Linked DNA regions of Homo sapiens: all the other regions are linked to region 1. The links are contacts of gene promoters, found by promoter capture Hi-C in human tissues and cell types (Jung and others, 2019). All regions are on one chromosome and are shown on one strand. Each heading gives the region's core, a stretch centred on a gene start or on the middle of the fragment in contact. The rest is flanking DNA. Distances are from core to core; before and after follow the strand shown. Region 1 holds the start of SCP2D1 (SCP2 sterol binding domain containing 1). Region 2 has its middle 170 kb from the start of SCP2D1-AS1. Region 3 overlaps DTD1 (D-aminoacyl-tRNA deacylase 1).

Region 1 (3,169 bases), core at 316-2,815:
CCAAGAACACACACACACTCACCCACAAGGAGTTTGCATCAGCTGCAACAGACTTCATCCTATCCTCCCAGACAACATGTGAAGGGAGCTTCCGGAAGGGAAATCTCCCAGGCTGCCCTCTGATTTTGTAAAATGTTCAATGCACAAGCTCCTGACAGCATGGATACTTTATAAATGGCTCACAGAGGGCTGTGGGGTCTGTCTCTGGGAGATCCTTTAATTAATGGCACCATCTCATTGGCCTAGAATAGAATAGTTACAGTCAATACTGAGAGCTTTGGCATGAAGTGAAGCAGAGCTGGAATTCTCTAAGGGTGGTGCCATCAGCATCCCCTGGGAACTTGTTAGAAATGTGCATTCTCTCCAGCCCAGATTTCCTGAGTAGAAGCTCTGAGATGGAGCCCAGCAATCCAGACTTTAACCAACCTTTCCGGTGATTCTGATGCATGCTCCAGTTAAGAACCACTGGCCTAGAACACCTCCCAAGCCCTTCAAGTTTCTTGGAATTGAAACCATCAGAAATTATAATACACCAACAGCACCATCCCCTCTATTGCCTGGGTTCCACCCACAGACCTGTGGTGCCCCATTCCCTTAGCACCCCACAGTCTCATAGTAAAGTTTCCTCATGGAATCAAGTTACCATGCAGAATGCACACCTGCACAATGATAGTTATCACTTCTTTCCCCAAAACATCAAACTTTTTTAGAAAAGGAAAAATGTCTCAAGAACACAATCATTGGAGTATTTAATTCCAATGATCATAATCACCCATTTCTTTACACGTGGCTCTCACCCTGGCATAAATGGAGCATAAAGGGCATAAATGGAGCTAAAAAAAGAGAAAAAGACAAAGATTCTAATTGATGCACTACAACGCTTTTTACTGCTTCAGAACCCTCCCTGAAAATTTACCCATCAACAGGAAAATCAATTAAACTTGAATAGGAAGAATTTGAGTAAAAATATTGGATACTTTTTACTTTAATCTTCAGATTAAGCATGATTTCCACTCGACATTATCATCGAAGAGAAGTTCTTCCTTGGTATTTTTGCATGCTTAAAATTTAGCCCAGTCTTTGAAAACCCTTTCCAGCTTCCAGCTAAGCAGAACCTTGCCACTCACTTTGAACTTTCCGGCAAGGAAAGCCTTCTGCGGGTTCATTTTGCCCAAAACCAGCTCCATAAAGACAGACTCCGGGATTGTAAAGACAGTGTCTGCTGGGAGCCTGGCAGGTCCCGGATACATGTCCCCAGAACCATTCTTCAGATCAATGGTCCACCGCAAAATGGTCTTCCCATTTTTGGTGATGTCCAGCTGAAAGACGGCATTGACTTTCTTGACCAATTGAGCTCCCACTTCCCTGATGTGAAGCCTAATGTCCTGAAACACTGGGAAGCTCTCAAATTCTGACAGCTCTAGAGGATGTGGCATGGCAGGTTCTGGAACTGAACCCAGAACCTCGAACTGGCCCACCAGAGGTCCATCCTCTGCTTTGATCTTGGGTTGATGGTCACTTCTCTTCCACATCTTCCTGTGCTAGTCCCCTGGACCTTGCCATCTAGTCTGTGAGCAGCTGTGACCAGATTAATACCCACAGGTCAGATTGTGACATCAAAGGTAAGGCCAAGTGGGGACTGAAGCTGGTGTGTGTGCTACAGTCTTATTGGCCAAACAAATGATAACGTGTGACCTCAGATAAGGGCTCAGACAGGCCATTGTGAGGCAGATCCACACACACACGCCCCTCCCAAACCAATCAGGGATGTTGGTCCTGCAAGCCCAAAAGGTCTGCAGGCTGCAATGGGGTTAAGGGAAACTGGCCCCAGAAGCTTCTTTAGTGACATGAGCTCTGTCTTTCCAATGCAGACATCTCCTCAGTGAAACCCAACGTGAGACAGAAGTTATTCTTATTCCTCTAAAACTAGGTAACACTTAAGTCCCATTAAGTGGGTAATACTTAAGTTAATACTACAGATCCTAGTGCTGAATTTGGCTTTATCTGGCTGCTGGTAGAAAGGGAAATGCTTTTAGGCCAGAGTAATTGATTGGAGAAGGAATCAGTCCAGGAGCCTGCATCAGAAACTTTCCAGAAGCACAGTGAGACACACACAGAGAGATTAAATGTCCCTAAGATCAGAAGATGCTGCCAGTCTCCTCTGATAATTACACGTAATAGTATAGCCCTTGCTCTGGGCCAAGGTGCAGAGTTCTAAGTACTACACATGTATTAACACATTTAACTCTCATTACAACCCTCTATGATAGGTATTTTTTCTTTTTTTTTTTTTTTTTTGAGACAAGGTCTTGCTCTGTCACCCAGGCTGGAGTACAGTGGCGCGATCTCTGCTCACAGCAGCCTCTGCCTCCTGGGCTCATTTGATCCTCCCACCTCAGTCTCCCAAGTAGCTGGGAATACGGCGTGTGCCACCACACCTGGCTAATCTTTGTACTTTTTGTAGAAATGGGGTTTCACCATGCTGCCCAGGTTGGTCTCAAACTCCTGGGCTAAAGTGATCCACCTACCTCGGCCTCCCAGATAGGTATTCTTTTTATCCCCATTTTACATATAAGGAAACTGAGGGGAGAAATGAAGTAACTTGCCCAATGTCACACAGTTAGTAAGTAGTGTAGCCAGATTTGAGGAGAGGCAGAATGACTCCAAAGTCCACCTGTTTATTTCTTTACTTTTTATTCTGAAATAATTTCAGTCTTATAAAAAGTTTGCAAAAATAGTACCTGTTTAACCTTCTCCCAGCTTTCCCCAAAACTAACATCTTATATAATCACAGTACAGTGATCTAATCTGAGAAATTCACATTGGTTCATGACTACTAACTAATCTACAGACCATGTGAGACCATATCTATTTGGTTGCAGGTCTCCCTAGTGCCTTGCAGTCTGGGGCAGCTCTTCAATCTTTGTCTATCGTTACCTTGACACTTGAATACTGGCCAGTTATTCCCAAAAATGTCCCTCCTTTGAGGACTGCCTGATGCTTTCTCCTGGTTAGGTGGAGGTTATGCATTTGGGACAAGGATGCCACAGAGGTGACCTGTGCTCTTCCCACTGTGCCATAGCAGGCGTCCATGATGTTATGTCCCATTTCTGCCGATGTTGTCCTTGATCACTTGGTTAAAGCGGCTCCTTCAGGCTTCTGCACTGTA
Region 2 (3,169 bases), core at 306-2,805, 180 kb before region 1:
TATAGGCATGAGCCACCACACGCAGCCTCACTTTATTCTTAAATGGATGAGGCCAGGCAACACTGATGAGTGATGGACTTACTCACAGTAACAGGCACCATTTTTGAGGGGCAACTCTGTGCCAGGCACTGCGCTAGTTGCCTCCCATCCGTTCTGTCCTTCAATCTTCACAACACAGAATTTTAAAGCAATGTCCAAGAGGTTGCTTGGTCTGTTATCTGAAGACAGCAAAGATTTACTCAGATTGGGCCTACCCCAAGAGAAACTTATCAACAGAAGTCATTAGCATGGATGCTGTACTAAATATTGGTAGACAATCCTCCAGGAAATATAACCCATTCTTGGGGCAGTAGACTTCTTCTGAATTCAGACATTTTCAAGTCAACCATCCACTTTCTTAGATTAAAAAGTATTACTGACTCCCAGATGGCAATATAGCTGGACCAAAACCAACTTCCTGAGAGTATTAGCATTAGATACCTACTTTGTGCCTGGCAGTGTACCAGACATTAGAGGGCTTCGGATAAATAGAAACCCTGCCCTTGAGTACTCCAATCCCAGCCAGCCAGCCACCCAGCACGTCAATCATTCATTCATTCAAAGGTGTGTATTGAGCTCCCGTCCATGTTATGTAAAGTCAGAGAGAACTGCTGCCTTTCCGGAGCTTACATTCTGGCTGACTTACTCTCAGGATATTGTTACAATGCAAAGGAAGATGGTTTAGAATCAATAGATGAGGAGCTATACTCACAATGGGAGAAGAGTTAGTTAAGTTTTCTGTAAGACAGTCCAGCAATGAGTATTAAAAGCTATAATATTTTATAATCCTTTGGCTCAGTAAATCCACTTTAAGAAATGTATCCAAAGGAAGTCATCCTATACGTAAATCATCATACATGTGCATGAAGATTTTTTATAAGGTTATTCATCATTGGTATATTGCTTAGAATCATACCAAAAAAAAAGAAATAATCCCAATCACCAATGAGGAATGAATTAAATAAATTATAGTACATTCTTTCATGCAGTGGAATGTTATGTAACCATTAAAGGTTATGTTCTACACATGTTGTTAAGTAAAAAATGGCAGGTCATAATACTGGGTCATCTTCAGGCTTTAATACAACTCCAATCATCAAGCCAGAACTGAAGGGTAATGTATGTTAATAAATTTTCTGATGGTGTGTTTAACAAATATTTCTTTTTTTTCTTTTTTTTTTTTTTTTTTGAGACGGAGTTTTTTGCTCTTCTTGCCTAGGCTGGCTTGCAATGGTGCGATCTCAGCTCACTGCAACATCTGCCTCCTGGGTTCAAATGATTCTCCTGCCTCAGCCTCCTGAATAGCTGGGTTTACAGGCATGCACCACCAGGCCCAGCTAATTTTGTATTTTTAGTACAGAGGGAGTTTCACCATGTAGGTCAGGCTGGTCTCGAACTCCTGACCTTGTGGTCTGCCCGCCTAGGCCTCCCAAAGTGCTGGGATTACAGGCATGAGCCACCGTGCCTGGCCACAAATATTTCTTTAATAATCATATTTTGCCATATTTTCCTTAAAATTCTACTCAGTACTACATCTATTGGGATATCCTCCTATTCTCTTTTTGATCTTTCCCATTCCCCAAAACTCCCAGCTTTTCTGCCTTTCTTCCTCACTACTCTCTTCTCTTCCTTCTCCTCTTCTCTCTCCCTGCACCCCCTCCCCCTTCTCTTCCAAATTCCTCCCCTTCCCTATTTTTCTTCCTTCTGGTATCTCCATGCCCTTTCCTGTATAGATCAACTTGGTCTCTCTCAGCTTGTCCAGATTTCTTTTCCACCAATCTCTCTACCCAGAATAATAAAGACATCCCTTCTCAGAAAAGGAGGGGAGAAATGCAGGCACTTATGATTTATTATTTTGTGTCTTTTATGTATATATACTATTAATATTGGATATATCTGAGTGTTAAGATGTAAAGGGATTTTATCTTATTTGCTTATTCAAATTTTTCTTTGATTTTTCAAAAGTCAACATGCATTTTGCTAAATGAGAAAAAATCTTTTTTGAATGATAAAAATATATTGGACACAGTAGCATTTAGAAGTCTCATAATTTTCCTTGAAGGAATTATAAATTTCCTGTGAATGTTGTTAAAAAATCATGCCATGAAATGGTGACCACCTTCTGGAGAGGTCCAGGACTGCTACAATGTCCCCAGGATGTCTCTAGGAGACATCTTCCATATTGAAACACTGAAGCCATATGGCCTCTTTTCAGTTAAAAATTCCCAACTCCTCTTCTCCTGCTGAGATTCAAATCCCAGCCACAGAAATGACAGGATTCTCAGTGTAGCAGACATGTCATGGAAGAGTGGTCTTTTTTTTTTAATCAACAAGGCCATGTGGTAGGCCACCTGCTTCAGAATGACTCAGGTACTTGGTATAAATGTCAGTCTTACACACTCACCCACTCAACTTTTGTCTTTCACTTTTTAGCCACATACACACAGACATGACTGCCACTGCAATTTACCAAAAATGGCTATGATTGTGACTGTATCTTTAACCTTCTATTACCCTCCCCAAACACCCGTGACTATGAACACGATGAGGACATACTCACATCATATACCTGTCCCAGCTCCAAGGCTGCACCTGGCGATGCAGGGACACAGGTCCTCCCTCATCTCCTCCCACTATTTTGGAATGTTCCCAGCTGGTGTTTTACAGATGTAAAGGCACAAATATTCCCATGTTCTATTGCAGGCCCTTGTCATGGTCCTTGGCCATCAATATCAGTGCCCTCCGTGAGCACACTCTTGTAAATCCCTCCTCCCAGAGCTGCCCAAACCCTGATTCCCAAGGTGCCGGAGCAGAACAGGATGCCTTGCTCCCCTATTCTGTGCTGCACCTCTTTGCCTGGACCTTGAAGTATGGATGCTTGTGCTCAGCATCTCAAAACACCTTGTGTAAACAAGTTCTATTGCCTTTTGTCTCTGGCTCTCCCCCTGGGAATTTTAAGCAGTCTCAGAGGCTGGGCAGGGAACCACCCCTTGCCATCCCTCCCTTCATTTCATCTTTCCTTGTTTACTACCAAAAATCTTCCTCTCTCTTCAACAACAGCATCAGCAAGGCATATGTATAACTCATGCAGACACTTGGCCTGGGAAATCGCCCAGTCTCCTGGCAGAAG
Region 3 (3,169 bases), core at 169-2,668, 150 kb after region 1:
CCACCCCCAGCTGGGCATGGTGGCTCACACCTGTAATTCCAGAACTTTAGGAGGCTGTGGCAGGCAGATCGCTTGAGGTCAGGAGTTCAAGACCAGCCTGGCTGTAGCAGGCAGATCGCTTGAGGTCAGAAGTTCGAGACCAGCCTGGCCAACAAAAATTGCTAGTATTATTGATTTTTAATTTTTACCTATCTAACAAGGCAAAACATGGGAGCTTGTAACTTGCATTTCCTGGATCATCAGGAAAACTGAACGTCTTTTCACAACTTTTTTTTAAGAAATGGGGTCTCGCTCTGTCACCCAGGCTGGACCGCAGTGGTGCAATCATAGCTCACTGTAGCCTTGAACTCCTGGCCTCAAGCGATCCTCCCACCTCAGCCTTCTAAGTAGCTAGGACTACAGACTTGTACCACCATGCCTGGCTAATTTTTATATGTTTTGTAGAGACAGGGTCTCACTATGTTGCCCAGGCTGGTCTCAAACTCTTGACCTCAAGCAATCCTCCTGCCTCAGTCTCCCAAAGTGCTGGGATTACAGGCATGAGCCACTGTGCCTGGTCTCTTTTCAAATCTTAATGTCCATTTATATTTCTTCTGGACATTACCTGTTATCAGCCTTTTCTCCGTTTCCTATGGCTCTTCAGCCTTTTTTTCCTTATTGATTTGTAGGTGCTCTTTATGGATTCCAAATATTATTACTTTGTTTAAACAAAGTTTCATAAATGGAGAGGAATACCATGTTTAAAGACTAGAAGACTCAGCTGGGTGCAGTGGCTCACGCCTCTAATCCCAGCACTTTGGGAGGCCAAGGCGGGCAGATCACGAGGTCAGGAGATCAAAACCATCCTGGCTAACACGGTGAAACCCCGTCTCTACTAAAAATACAAAAAATTAGCCAGGCGTGCTGGCGGGCACCTGTAGTCCCAGCTACTCAGGAGGCTGAGGCAGGAGAATGGCATGAACCTGGGAGGCAGAGCTTGCAGTGAGCTGAGATCGCACCACTGCACTCTAGCCTGGGCGACAGAGCAAGACTCTGTCCCAAAAAAAAAAAAAAAAAAGACTAGAAGACTCAACACAGTAAAAAAGTTAAATCTCTGCAAATTGAGTACAGGTTTAATGTAATTCCTATCAAATTCCCAGCATCATTTTTTGTAGTCACAGACAGCTTTTTCTAAAATTTATACAGAAAGGCACAGGTCCTAGAACTGCTTAAAAACATGTCTAACAAAGGAGAATAAAGTGGGAGGAAATACTGTACCCAACATTATGGCTTACTATGAAGCTACAGTGATCAAGATAGAGTGATAATGGCAGAGGGATAGGCACAAAGATGAATGAACAAAACAGAGCCCACAAACAGACCACACAAGTCTAACTAGTTTTTGACAAAGGTATAAAAATGGAGGCAAGACAGTGCTGGATCAACAAGACATCTATAGAAGCAAAGAAAATGAACCTCAGCCTAAAGGTGGGTAGATAAAATCACTGTCAATATCCTGGTTGGGATATTATCTGTGGTTCTGCAAGATGCTTCCATGTTAGGAGAAACCGGGTGAGGGGTACACAGCATCTCACTGTATTATTTCTTACAATTGCATGTGACATATAGTAACCTCAATACAAAATTCAATTTAAAATATTACAAATATTTTTTCCTAGCCTAACTTTTTTCTTCTGAATTTGTTTATGGTATATAGGGTTAATTTTTATCTAGTCAAAATATATCCCCTGGATTTATTTAATATTTTATATTTCACAATTTTCTCAAAGTTGCTAAAATGAGCCGATAGGATGTCTATTTTAAACTCTCTTTATACTAAATAATTTTTTTTGTAATAAAAAGCCTTTTTGTTTTCTTTCTTCCTTTTTCTTTCAGTTTCTGCTTTGCTAAATAAAAGCTTCTTTTTTGGGCCACCCACGGTGGCTCATGCCTGTAATCCCAGCACTTTGGGAGGCCAAGGCAGGCAGATTACTTGAGCTCAGGAGTTCGAGACCAGCCTTGGCAACATGGCAAAACCCTGTCTCCACAAAAAAATACAAAAATTTGCCAAGCGTACTTGTGTGCACCTATAGTCCCAGCTACTCAGGAGGCTAGGATGGGAGGATTGCTTGAGTCTGGGAGGTTGAGGCTGCAGTAAGCCATGATCACACCACTACACTCCAGCCTGGGCAACAGAACGAGACCCTATCTCAAAAAATAAAAATAAAAAATACTTTTTTTTTGAGACGGAGTCTCGCTCTGGCTCCCAGGCTGGAGTGCAGTGGTGCAATCTCAGCTCACTGCAACCTCCACCCTCCCGAGTAGCTGTGATTATAGGCTTCCACCACCACGCATAGCTAATTTTTGTATTTTTAGTAGAGATAGGGTCTCACCATGTTGGCCAGGCTGGTCTCAAACTCCTCTTCTGACCTCAAGTGATCCACCACTTCGGCCTCCCAAAGTGCTGGGATTACAGATGTGAGCCACCATGCCCAGCTGGTAAAAAAATATTTTTTTTCTTTCTTTCTTTCTTTTTTAAAGTTATGGGATACATGTGCTGAACGTGCAGGTTTGCTAACATAGGTATACATGTGCTATGGTGGTTTGCTGTACCTATCAACCTGTCATCTAGGTTTTAAGCCCCGTATGCATTAGGTATTTGTCCTAATGCTCTCCCTCCCTTTTCCCCCCACTCCCTGACAGGCCCCAGTGTGTGAAGTTCCCCTCTCTGTGTCCATGTGTTCTCATTGTTCAACTCCCACTTATGAGTGAGAACATGCAGTGTCTGGTTTTCTGTTCCTATGTTAGTTTGCTGAGGATGATGGTTTCCAGCTTCATCCATGTCCCTCCAAAGAATATAAACTCATTCTTAAAAAAATATATTTTTTGATTAACCATAATAAACTCTATAAAAGACAACATTTAAAAAATTAAACAAACCTGAGCATGACATTAAAAGATATGGTTAAGTAATCTCAATTTCAAGCTTAAGTTGATATGACAAAAGAGAAATTAAACATCATGAATATAATGGAAAGGGCACATGTACTTGTAGCTGTTCATAAAGGGAGGGAGGAAAGAGTCTGCAAATCGAGGAGAATGGGAGAGTCCCCTTCCACAGGTCAGCCTGGGCACTCATGGTGGGGAGCAACAGGGCCAAAGGTGCAAACCAGTGCTGGGCACTGCTTTT

Evidence for each region. Contacts are between HindIII fragments. The study calls those that stand out against the background at their distance.
Region 2: a fragment that was not itself captured here is called in contact with the fragment with the promoter of SCP2D1 in region 1 in 2 of the 25 tissues and cell types used here (spleen and stomach).
Region 3: a fragment that was not itself captured here is called in contact with the fragment with the promoter of SCP2D1 in region 1 in 3 of the 25 tissues and cell types used here (bladder, dorsolateral prefrontal cortex and liver).

The regions. Positions count from the first base shown.
Region 1 is chr20:18,812,179-18,815,347 of GRCh38, reverse strand. It overlaps SCP2D1 (SCP2 sterol binding domain containing 1), which reads right to left and starts at 1,565. Exons shown (of 1, transcript NM_178483.3): 1 at 970-1,565. The coding sequence starts at 1,532. The coding sequence ends at 1,062. The region is part of intron 2 of SCP2D1-AS1 (SCP2D1 antisense RNA 1); the gene reads left to right. The HindIII fragment of the contact is 11,706 bases long and covers 1-3,169 here.
Region 2 is chr20:18,994,923-18,998,091 of GRCh38, reverse strand. No RefSeq gene overlaps it. Among named protein-coding and RNA genes, the nearest start is that of SCP2D1-AS1, 170 kb to the right of the region's middle. The HindIII fragment of the contact is 7,902 bases long and covers 1-3,169 here.
Region 3 is chr20:18,659,260-18,662,428 of GRCh38, reverse strand. All of the region lies in intron 4 of DTD1 (D-aminoacyl-tRNA deacylase 1), which reads right to left. Among named protein-coding and RNA genes, the nearest start is that of DTD1-AS1, 38 kb to the left of the region's middle. The HindIII fragment of the contact is 7,579 bases long and covers 1-3,169 here.